Regions from separate parts of the Homo sapiens genome. Here all the other regions are linked to region 2. Evidence: promoter capture Hi-C in 16 types of primary human blood cells and fetal thymus (Javierre and others, 2016). All regions are on one chromosome and are shown on one strand. The core of a region is centred on a gene start or on the middle of the fragment in contact, and the rest is flanking DNA. Distances in the headings are between cores, read along the strand shown.

Evidence for each region. Contacts are between HindIII fragments. The CHiCAGO score rates a contact against its expected background, and 5 or more counts as called.
Region 1: a fragment that was not itself captured here is called in contact with the fragment with the promoter of PUM3 in region 2 in 2 of 17 cell types (fetal thymus and activated CD4 T cells); the score reaches 7.3 in fetal thymus.
Region 3: a contact is called between a fragment that was not itself captured here and the fragment with the promoter of PUM3 in region 2, in 1 of 17 cell types (non-activated CD4 T cells). The highest score is 5.0, in non-activated CD4 T cells.

Annotation. Positions count from the first base shown.
Region 1 is chr9:4,985,884-4,989,208 of GRCh38, forward strand. JAK2 (Janus kinase 2) reads left to right here. Exons shown (of 25, transcript NM_004972.4): 2 at 57-139. Among named protein-coding and RNA genes, the nearest start is that of JAK2, 2.3 kb to the left of the region's middle. RefSeq lists an enhancer at 142-191. The HindIII fragment of the contact is 2,769 bases long and covers 558-3,325 here.
Region 2 is chr9:2,842,018-2,845,741 of GRCh38, forward strand. PUM3 (pumilio RNA binding family member 3) reads right to left here and starts at 2,078. Exons shown (of 18, transcript NM_014878.5): 1 at 2,028-2,078. RefSeq lists enhancers at 1,107-1,668, 2,052-2,346, 2,170-2,409. The HindIII fragment of the contact is 3,665 bases long and covers 347-3,724 here.
Region 3 is chr9:5,631,031-5,634,354 of GRCh38, forward strand. The region is part of intron 1 of RIC1 (RIC1 partner of RAB6A GEF complex); the gene reads left to right. Among named protein-coding and RNA genes, the nearest start is that of INCR1, 3.0 kb to the left of the region's middle. The HindIII fragment of the contact is 1,214 bases long and covers 972-2,185 here.

The DNA.
Region 1 (3,325 bases), core at 692-3,191, 2.1 Mb after region 2:
GCATTTGTTTCCCCTGGATTTATGTGGTAGTAGTTAACTGCTGCTTCTGTTTTTAGGTTTCAGAAGCAGGCAACAGGAACAAGATGTGAACTGTTTCTCTTCTGCAGAAAAAGAGGCTCTTCCTCCTCCTCCCGCGACGGTGGGTGTGCTGTCCTTTATCGCTGCAGTAAAGGCGAAGGTGTCTGGAGCTGGGAGTGCGTGCGTAGGGAAGGTTGGAAGCGTGTGAAGAGAGGCAGGGCTCATTGTTGCTTACTCTTCTGAAAATGTCAGTGCTAAACTTTTAATGTTGATCTGGGAGAGTAATTTTGGGGTGTTTTGTTGTTCGTCTTGGATCCTTTAAGAAACATTTTTTTGTTGGCTTTACACATAACGTGACTTTGCAGAGAAACGAAAAACGTTGTCCATTACCCTTTCTTCTTAAGCAGCCAGAGATTCTTAATCCTTTAAAGAGGAGTATTTCCAAGCAATAAGAGATAGCTTTTGGGAGAACACGTTAGCTATTCTTGCTGGGGTTTCTGCTACCACATTGAATGTTTCCTCATGGTTTTATCTGCCTAAGCTTGCTGTGTCGGTTGAATTTACCCAGTTTGTTTTCCAGTAATTACTAATCTGTTAGGAGAAACTCCATTTCTCTGAATGAAAGGGTAGGAGCGGCTGAGTATGGAGAAGGAAACTGGAAGTGGGAATAAGGGAAATGATTGCTTTTGGTTTCATAATAAGTTTGTACAGTGAGTTGTTGGGCTACTGCAAATAAAGATTTTGTATCCCTTCTCCAGAATGCTTGGGACCAAAAGTGTTTTGGATTTTTTTTAAAAATTTTGGAATGTTTGCATATACAAAATCAGACATCTTGAGGATGGGACCCAAGTGTAAATACGAAATTCGTTTGTTTCATATAGACCTTATTCACACAGCCACTAAGTCATTTGCAATATTTTTAATACGTCTGTGCATGAAACAAAGTTTGTATTAAGTACCTATGCGGGGAATTTTCCCCTTGTAGCATCATGTTGGTGCTCAAAATGTTTCAGATTTTGCAGCTTTTCAGATAAGGGATGATCAGCTTGTATTTTGATATAACACCCAGAACATTTGAAGATGAATAATCAATTTTTGGCCTCCCTTCCCCCATCCGCCTCACCTTATACCACTTTAAGTGTGAGAATTATTTGCTTGTACATGCATTTGTCTGTTGGTGTGTAACGTATGTACAGACTGGATGTATCCAGCACTTGCCTTAATAGTACATGTATTTACCTGAATAGGAAAGCTGCAGTACTTGCTGGCCAGAAGAGCACACCATGCTTGTTTTTGCTCTAACTGAATATCCTGTATTTGCAATTTATAGCAGTTTTAGGGACTCATTAGGGAATTTTGTGTGTGTGTGCCTTTGGTGATTTGAGACAGGTGTCTCAGATATGGGAAGGGAATATGACATTGTTTCTCTTTCACCTGGCTATTACTGAAAGGTGGGATGCTTTTGAGGCAGAATAGGAAAGTGCATTGGCTTTGGAGTGAGATCTGGATTTGAATCCTGGTGTTCTTGCCACTTAAGAGTTGCATTATTTACGGCTGGTCATGGTGGCTCACGCCTGTAATCCCAGCACTTTGGGAGGCTGAGGAAGGAGGATCACTTGAGGTGAGGAGCTTGAGACCAGCCTGGCCAACATGGTGAAACCCCATCTCTACTAAAAATACAAAAATTAGCCGGGCGTGGTGGTGCACACCTGTAATCCCAGCTACTCGGGAGGGTGAGGCAGGAGAATTGCTTGAACCTGGGAAGTGGTGGTTGCAGTGAGCCGAGATCTCACCACTGCACTCCAGGCTGGGCAACACAGCAAGACTCTGTCTAAAAAAAAAAAAAAAAAGAAAGAAAAAAAGAGTTATATTATTTACGACTCTTTTAGCTTCACTTTCTTATAAGATTGTTGTGAGAAGTGAGTAAGACACATGCAAAGTGGTAAACTGCCTGGCTGTCATAAAAGTCTTGGCTACTATCACGGCTGGGAGGCAAAGGAGATTCAGAGAAGGGCAGAATGACTGCATAAGGTGATCTGCCTGTAACTCGTGTTTCCTCCTTTCTAGTATAAAGAGATAAAGGACTTCAAGGTCTTAAACTGGTGAGGGAGTATTACAGCCTTTGTATGGAAAGGTTTGACTTTGTGTCTCTGCTTAAACCCCCATTGTGTTGCCCCTACCAATTATTGTGCTGCCCCCTTGTGGTTAACTGTGCTAAGACCTTTCTTTTGCTCTTCTCCCATTACATTTCCCACCCTTCCCCACTCCCTTTTAGACCCCTCCTCTTAGCTCCCAGTTTCCCAAACTGTGTGCCAAGGTGCCCAGAGCACCTCAGGCTTGAACTTGTGTTTTGAGTTGGTTCATGGTTTCAATATTAGATACCTACACCCGTTTCTACAATGTCATGTCTTTGTAAAGATGTATTTTCAGAGGTTGCTCCGATAAAAAGCAACTACTACATGAAAATGAATGTAGAACAGGAAATGACAGTGTGGTATTGTCCAATTTGATTCTAAGGTTTGATAAGTTCTACAGTGCTCTACACTAAGTTGTAAGGACATAACTACTAAGTAAGTTGTTCAAACCTATTTCTTTTGGCCTGGGGGTGTCGTGAAAAATTTGCTAAGACTCAGAGCTCCCTGAATGGGTTTGGAAACCTCTGCCTTAGCTTTTAGTTTGCTTTTCTGATAAAATTATTGATATAAAGCTAGTACCAGCTGATCATGGCTTAATATATTTCCTCTCCTATGTAATATGTTTATAACTTCTGCCCAGTTCTTTCATTTTAAAACTAATCCTATTGCTAACTTGTTGTACTAGTCACTTCCTGGTTTTTCCTGTACTGGTCTTCTGCTTCTACTTCTGTTCATCTCCTTAAACTCCGAATGCCCCAAGTGAAAGTTACCATTTTCTACCCCTTAATTTTCTTCTAATCATGTAGGCTTTAAATTAGGCATCATCTTTAAACTACTTCTTTCATTTACCTCTTATTCCCATTCAAAATGTCCATATTTCCTTTCTTTCTCATATCTCTGCTTTCCCTCCTTTACTGTGTGAATCCCAGGACACATTTCCTGAGCCTAGAATATTGAAAGTCATTTGAACTTCTGAGAATTCAGTGTCCCTTCCTTCTGTTTATCCTCAATAGAGATTCCACTCTAATACTCCTTATTATAGCATTCCCTTGCCCCAAAACCTTCAGTGGCTTACCATTTTCTACTTATTAAATTTTCCTGACTTTTAAGATAGTCTATTATCAATCCCTGCCCTATTTATTTAGTCTTTTGTCTAAGGATCTCTAGTCCTT
Region 2 (3,724 bases), core at 828-3,327:
ACTGCCAATGATTAGGTTTTCACTCCTGTTTTGTCTTTTCCAGAATGGCATTCTTATACATGGAATCATACAATATGTAACTTTTTGAGTCTTGCTTTTTGCACTGGGCAAAATGCAATTTGCTTTGCTTGGGAACCCTGTACCTTCGTAATGAATCATCACATTCAATAGTGTCTCTTGGAATTCGCCCCCCTTTTTCCTTTCCCTCTATTACCCCATTCAGGCTCCTGTTACCTCTTGCTCAGTTTTGTTTAGATCCTATCTGCTTTGATCCACTTTCCGCTGCCTGATTAACCTTCCAGTAGCACACCTATTTCATGTCATTTCCATGCTCCAATAGCTTCAAAGCTTTCCCACTGCCTTCAGGAAAAAGTTCCAACTCAGGCATTCACAGCCATTCAAAATGTGGTCTTAATTCACCCCACTCATCACCACCACACAGGAGCCACTATTCTTATCAGAATAGTGAAGTTTAAAGCCATTCTCTCTACCAACACAATTTCTACCCATCCTTCAAATTCAGTTTAAATGACATTTTCTTATAGACCAACCTCTACATGTTAGCATTCCTCAAATCTTTGCCCTAGGGAACTTCCCTTCTCTCTCCACACTTCTCCCTAGGTGGTCTCATCCAATCTCCTGGCTTTTTATGCTGAGTACTCCCAAATCATGTCTCCATTATGAACTTCTCCTTGGGGTCCAAACTTGTGTATAACTGCTTATCTGATACCTCTAATTATGTGTCTAACAGGAACCTTACCCTTAATATGTCCAAAACATAATTCTCTATGTTGTTCTTTATGTTATTGTTGTTTGCCCCACAAACAACAATATACTATTTTTCCCTGCCCTATCGTCCTCCATCTCAGCCAATGGCACATCATCTACTTTACTGCTCAAGTAAGAAATCTGAGTTACCCTTGACATTTTCCTCTCTACTCTGCCACGCTGAACCATAAGTTAGTTCTCTTAAATGTCCCTTACGTCACCACCCTAATGCAAACTATTACCAATACAATCTCTTGAGCTTCCAAATGTAATACATTTTCTAAAGAGAACCAGGGCCTATTCATGATTCTCACTTGCTTACAAGTCTTCAATGTTTTCTACACATGGTAATAGGAACGGAAATGTTTTCCTATTGTACAGAAAAAAAAATTCCCCATCATGACCTTCAAGGCCCTACAGAACCTAGTTCCACTCTATCCGGCTAACTTTATCTTGTACTCTAACTATACTCCTTCCTAGCTCCCATCTCAGGAACTTAGCCCATTATCGCCTCTGCTTGAAGTACTCCCTGAGCTTCCAAATCTCCGTTTAAAGATCACTTCTTCAGACTCCACTATCTGCCAACTCAGCATCCAGTTCGTTTCCTCCCAGCACTTAGAATCTGCGTACATTCAGGCAAACCGCCTAGCACTGGAGTTGGGGTTTGTGAAGTAGCACAGACAGGCTGATCAGGCCGAGCACGGGCTGGGATTCCGGAGTGAAGCTAGTCCACTCTAACCCGGCACGCAGGGCAACGTGGTGGGAGAGAGGTCGGAGTCCCGCCCTTCTTTTTTTTTTTTTTTTTTTTTTTGAGACGGAGTCTTGCTCTGTCTCCCAGGCTGGAGTGTAGTGGCACGATCTTGGCTCACTGCAAGCTCCGCCTCCCGGGTTCACGCCATTCTCCTGCCTCAGCCTCCCAAGTAGCTGGGACCACAGGCGCCCGCCACCATGCCCGGCTAATTTTTTGTAGTTTTAGTAGAGACGGGGTTTCACCGTGTTAGCCAGGATGGTCTCGATCTCCTGACCTTGTGATCCGCCCGCCTCGGCCTCCCAAAGTGCTGGGATTACAGGCGTGAGCCACCGCGCCCGGCCAGTCCCGCCCTTCTTGCCAGGCTCCAGTCAGTCCCAAACTCCTAGCCCAGAAAGAGGCCAGAGGAGACTGCCCAGTGGACAACAGCCCCGAGAGACCTTCCCGACTTCCAGCGCCCGGCAGGGTGCGAACCCCTCCCAAGAGCGACCGCTGAGCCTGCCACACTCACCGCACACGTGGGACCGAGACAGCTCGCGCAGCGGATCCCGACCGCCTCTCCGCTTCCGCTTCCTTGCCTTGCTCCGCCCCCGGGCCGCTTTTTTTCATCTTCCGCGGCGGATCAGGGACTAAGAGGTGGAGCTTCCCAGAGAATACAAAAATTCGGAATTTCTATTGGTCCGCTGCTGTTATGCCTCCTCTTGAGGCGCGAGGATTTTGGCCCTTGCAAGAATCCGTCGGGCGGAGGACGCGACAACGGCCACGGGAAATGACGTCATTAACCCTGTGGCTTCCGTGCTGGAAAGAGAGGGAGAGCTCTTGCGAGGCAGAACAGGCTGCTGAAGGACAGACCTGGCTGGCGCGGTTAATAAGAGGCCTGCATCCCGTAGCCTGAACAAATATTGAAGTAGCTAAAGTTTCTAAAGTGTGTTAATTTGCATACTTCCTCAGCAGTCCAGCGTGGAGGATAAAAGGGGTATCTTGTGAGTCGATTTGAATTGTAATCCCGTTTTTTTCACTTGCTAGCTGTGTGGCTCTGGGAAAATTACAGTTTTTATGAGCTTTGGCTTCCTGATCAATAAAATAGAAATAATTAAGTGATACGTGCAAAGCGCTTAGCATGGAACGCTCTCAATAAATGTTTGCCATTTTTAGTGTCTGCTCGTGCCTGGAAACTGCTGTTATTCCATTTTATACTTCAGGAAATAAGATTGTGGTTAGGATATATGCCCCATTTTCCAGATGAAGAAACTGACACCACAAACTTGCTCGTGTCAAGCAACAGAATTTTATTCTTTAACTGTTCTAGAGGCAAGAATTCCAAAATCAAGCTGTTGGCAGAGCCCTGCACCTTTTGAAGGCTCTAGGGGAGAATGCTTTGCTTCTTCAGCTTCTAACGGTTCCAGGCGGTCCGTGGCCTCTTGTTGCATGACTCCAATCTCGGCCTGTCTTCTAATGGCCTTCTCCTGTGCCTGTGCCACTTCTCTGTGTGTTTTTAGGACACTGAACATTGAATTTAGAGTCCACGGGGATAATCCAAGATCATCTCATCTGGAGGTCCTTAATCACATCTGCAAAGGCCCTTTTCCCAAATAAGGTCACTTTCACATGTCCTGGGAGTTAGGACATAGACATATCTTTTGGAGACTATTCAACCCACTGCATCTGTAAAGTTGAGGAACTGGCACTTGATCCCTGGTGCCAGACTTCAGATTTTACTGTCTTCCAACTTACTCCGTTTTCTGGCCACTAAGGAGTTAGAGTTGAAACTGGTAATTTAGTAGACTGTATGCTTCTTGATGACAGGGGCCATCATTACTTTCCAGGCACTTATCTCACTATGCAGCACATAGATACTTGATAAGTTCTTGTCGTCTACCTTAACTGTTACTAGTTTACATTTCAGCTCATTTAAATCTCATAAGAACGTTTTAAATAGGTCTTTTCTCATTTTACAGAGAAAGGCAAAACATAGTAGCTTTGGTCCAGTGAGCCTGACTCTAAACTCAACGTGGCTGCCTCCGTACTGCTTTCAATAATTCAGTAAATGCTAAGAGAAGAGAATATGGAACAGGAATTGCAGGAGGCCCATCAGCTGTGCCTTTTGGGCAAATAGCATAGTAGTGGGGATATTAGACACCTTGAAACACCTGACAAGTAAATGCTGGCCAAAAAGAAAGAAAAATCGCAAAATACACCCTATCACAC
Region 3 (3,324 bases), core at 329-2,828, 2.8 Mb after region 2:
TTTTAAATAAAAGTAAACAATATGACCTATGAATTGACCAGAAGCCTGTAAACCACTTTATTCCCCCATAAGAGAAGCATAAACATATGCTTTAATTTAGGGACATTGTGAATATTCTTAAGCATGTCTATTGTTTGGTTTTGGAGTTACATACGACATCTAGAAATCCAAGGCAGTTCTGGAATTTAAACTATTCATACTCTTCTTTCAAATTCCCACCTCACATGCAACTTCCTTTTTCCACAGAAGTCCAGGGACCCCTACTATTAAGTTCTGTTGTGCAAAAGTTAGGCTGTAGGGAACCCATGGGTTTAGAGGTCTGGAGTGAAATGAAATGCAGGAATACCTTAGAGGAGGCTGTATAGTACTGTAGTATGAGTGGTTAACCTTGGTCTCTGGGCACCAGCTTTGTTGTCACTGAAAAAAATCAGATATTCACGAGGTCAAGAGATCGAGACCATCCTGGCCAACATGGTGAAATCCCGTCTCTACTAAAAATACAAAAAAATAGCTGGGCGTGGTGGTGCACGCCTATAGCCCCAGCTACTCGGGAGGCTGAGGCAGGAGAATCGCTTGAACCCAAGAGGCAGAGGTTGCAGTGAGCCAAGATCCCACCACTGCACTCCAGCCTGGCGACAGAGCAAGACTCTGTCTCAAAAAAAAAAAAAAAAAAAAATCAAATATTGAACCAAGTGATTATAAGGTGTATGATTACATGCCTAGGTGAGTGGGATACATATGCTAGACTCCAGCTTCCAATCTTCTCTTCCTGGGATATGCCCTTTCTTACTCTGTATGAAAGTTTTCATTTTGATTTTCTAATTTGTAAACTTCCTGAAAGTATGTAAGTTAATTAGGTTAACAAACTTCATTTAAAAGTGAAAATGCCTTTAGGTAAATTAAAGGGCTATCAGTTATACTTCCATAATTTAGAGTGAATTGGTTTAAAAAGTTCTCATGGAGCTGCTAAAAGCTTTGATTTTTGAGAGGCTGTAGATACAAGTAGTTTTATAATAATATGTGAAGATCTACAGGATTTTACAGAGTTGAAGTCTTACAGCTGCTTGAGGGCATTTGAAGGCAGGGAGACATGCTCGTAGAGATGATAAAACAAGATTTGCTTACCTGAAATTTTGTTAGGGCTCACTTAGTAAATCAGGCTCTCTTAGGAGTGATATATTTTAAAAAGAGACAACTAGCCTTGTGGAAGGGACAGTCGTTTAGTAGTCTAAGCTGGTTGTTTCAATGTTCAAAAGAATTGTGGAAATTGTATGTGTACAGTGATAATTCATAAGACTGAATCTCTATTAAAATCTCTAACTGTACATTATATGGGTCTTCTAATGAACTTTTATGTACTACTTATACCTACTGTCCTCTATTCTAAGTAGGTATTCGGAATTCCACTGTTTAGACTCATATCTCTTCAGAATTATTTCCTACCCCAAATTTGAGAAATACAGTATAGTGTTGTTTATGAACAAAAGAGCCTCTAGATAGTTACTTAGCTTTTTTATATTGGAGCCCCAATATTATATTTTGGAGCCCCCCAAATGGTGTTAAAAAAAGGCTCAGTATGTGTAGGCTAGATTGGGGTGGTAGAGGTAGAACTTGACTGGGGGCAGTTGGTACATTTCTGCTAAGGTTATTGTAAAAGGACTAGTTTCAGCTTTGAGGATGAAACTGTTGCATAAGGTAGGTTATGATTTATGATTGACGTAGGTGTAGTGTGAGATGAATTACATTTTGTACTGTACTGAGGGCCCAGAATTATTCCTTTAATATACTAACTGTGACTATGAAAGTCTATATATGTGAACATCAGAATGGTATCTTTGAATTTAGCCATTCTAAATTAGATGTATAGACATTCTCGTTTTTCAGGTCACCGACTTTAAACATTTAAATTAGCTTCAGAAGTATTTTTGAACATCAACTGTAAAAGACAGATGTGTATAAAAGGGATGAAGAGACATGTTATATGTTAGTGTGTTAGATGTTAGTGTGTTAATATAAATCTTGTGAGATATCACTGTTGTAGGTAGCTAATAAAAAGCTGAAATGGGCAAATAATTACTAGGCTTATAAAATAAATTATATGTCGTTTAGTAATCCTGAGCAAAAACTTAGTTCCCATTGGTATGTGCTAATCATGGAAAAAAACAATGATATGTCAAAAGAACCAAGCTTTGGATCAGGTATGTGATTAACTGTGTTGACCTCAGGAAGACCATTTTATTTGTATTTTCCCAGCATTCCCATTTCTCACCCTTTTAACTCTATTACTTTCTCCAGAGAGCCTTCTTTATAAATTCACTGCTCTGAAGTCTTCTAGGGTTCACTGTTGATGAAAGAATGGAGTTCAAACTCCTTAGTTTGATATCACAGACACTCCCTTCTTGGAATGCTCTCTTGCCTCATTTCTGCCTGTCAGAGTATTATCTATCCTTTAACTGCTGTTGAAATCCTTTCTTTATGAGTCATTCTTTACCTACCGTAACCATAAGTGTTCATTTTTCTGATGAACTACTGCTTCCCCACTACTGCCAGCTTTGTTGAGGTATAATTGACAAATAAAAATTGTATATATTTAAGGTGTGCTGTGCGATACTTAGATCTACCCTGTGAGTTGATAATCACAATCAGTCTAATTAACAGATCCACCATCTCACACAGCTCCCTCTTTTTTTGTATGTGGGATGAGAACACTTAAGACCTACTCTCTTAGCAAATTTCAAGTATACAATATATGTTAATTATGGAAATAAATGTCATTATTAACGATAGTTACTGGGCCATGCATTAGGTCCCCAGAACGTATTCATCTTATACCTGAAAATTTGTACCTTTGACTGAAATACTCCCATTTCACCCACCTCCCAGCCCCTGGTAATCATCGTTCTATTCTCTGTTCCTATGAATTTGACGTCTTTATATTCCATATATGAGATCATGAAGTTGTTTTTTGTCTTGCTTACTTAGTATACTGTCCTTAAGTTTTGTCCATGTTGTTGCAGATGGCAGGATTTCCTTGTTTTTTAAAGGCTGAATAATATTTTATGTGTGTATGTGTGTGTGTTACATTTTCTTTATCCATTCATCTATTGACAGACACTTAGGTTGTTTCTGTATCTTGGCTACTTTGAATAATGCTGCAATGAATATGAAAGTGCAGATATCTCTTTGAGATACTGATTTCAATTCCTTTGGATATATACCTAGAAGTAGGATTGTTGGATCATGTGGTAGTCCTGTTTTTAGTTTGAGGAACTTCTGTTTTCCATCATGACTGTACCATTTTGCAGTCCCGTCAATAGTGTACAG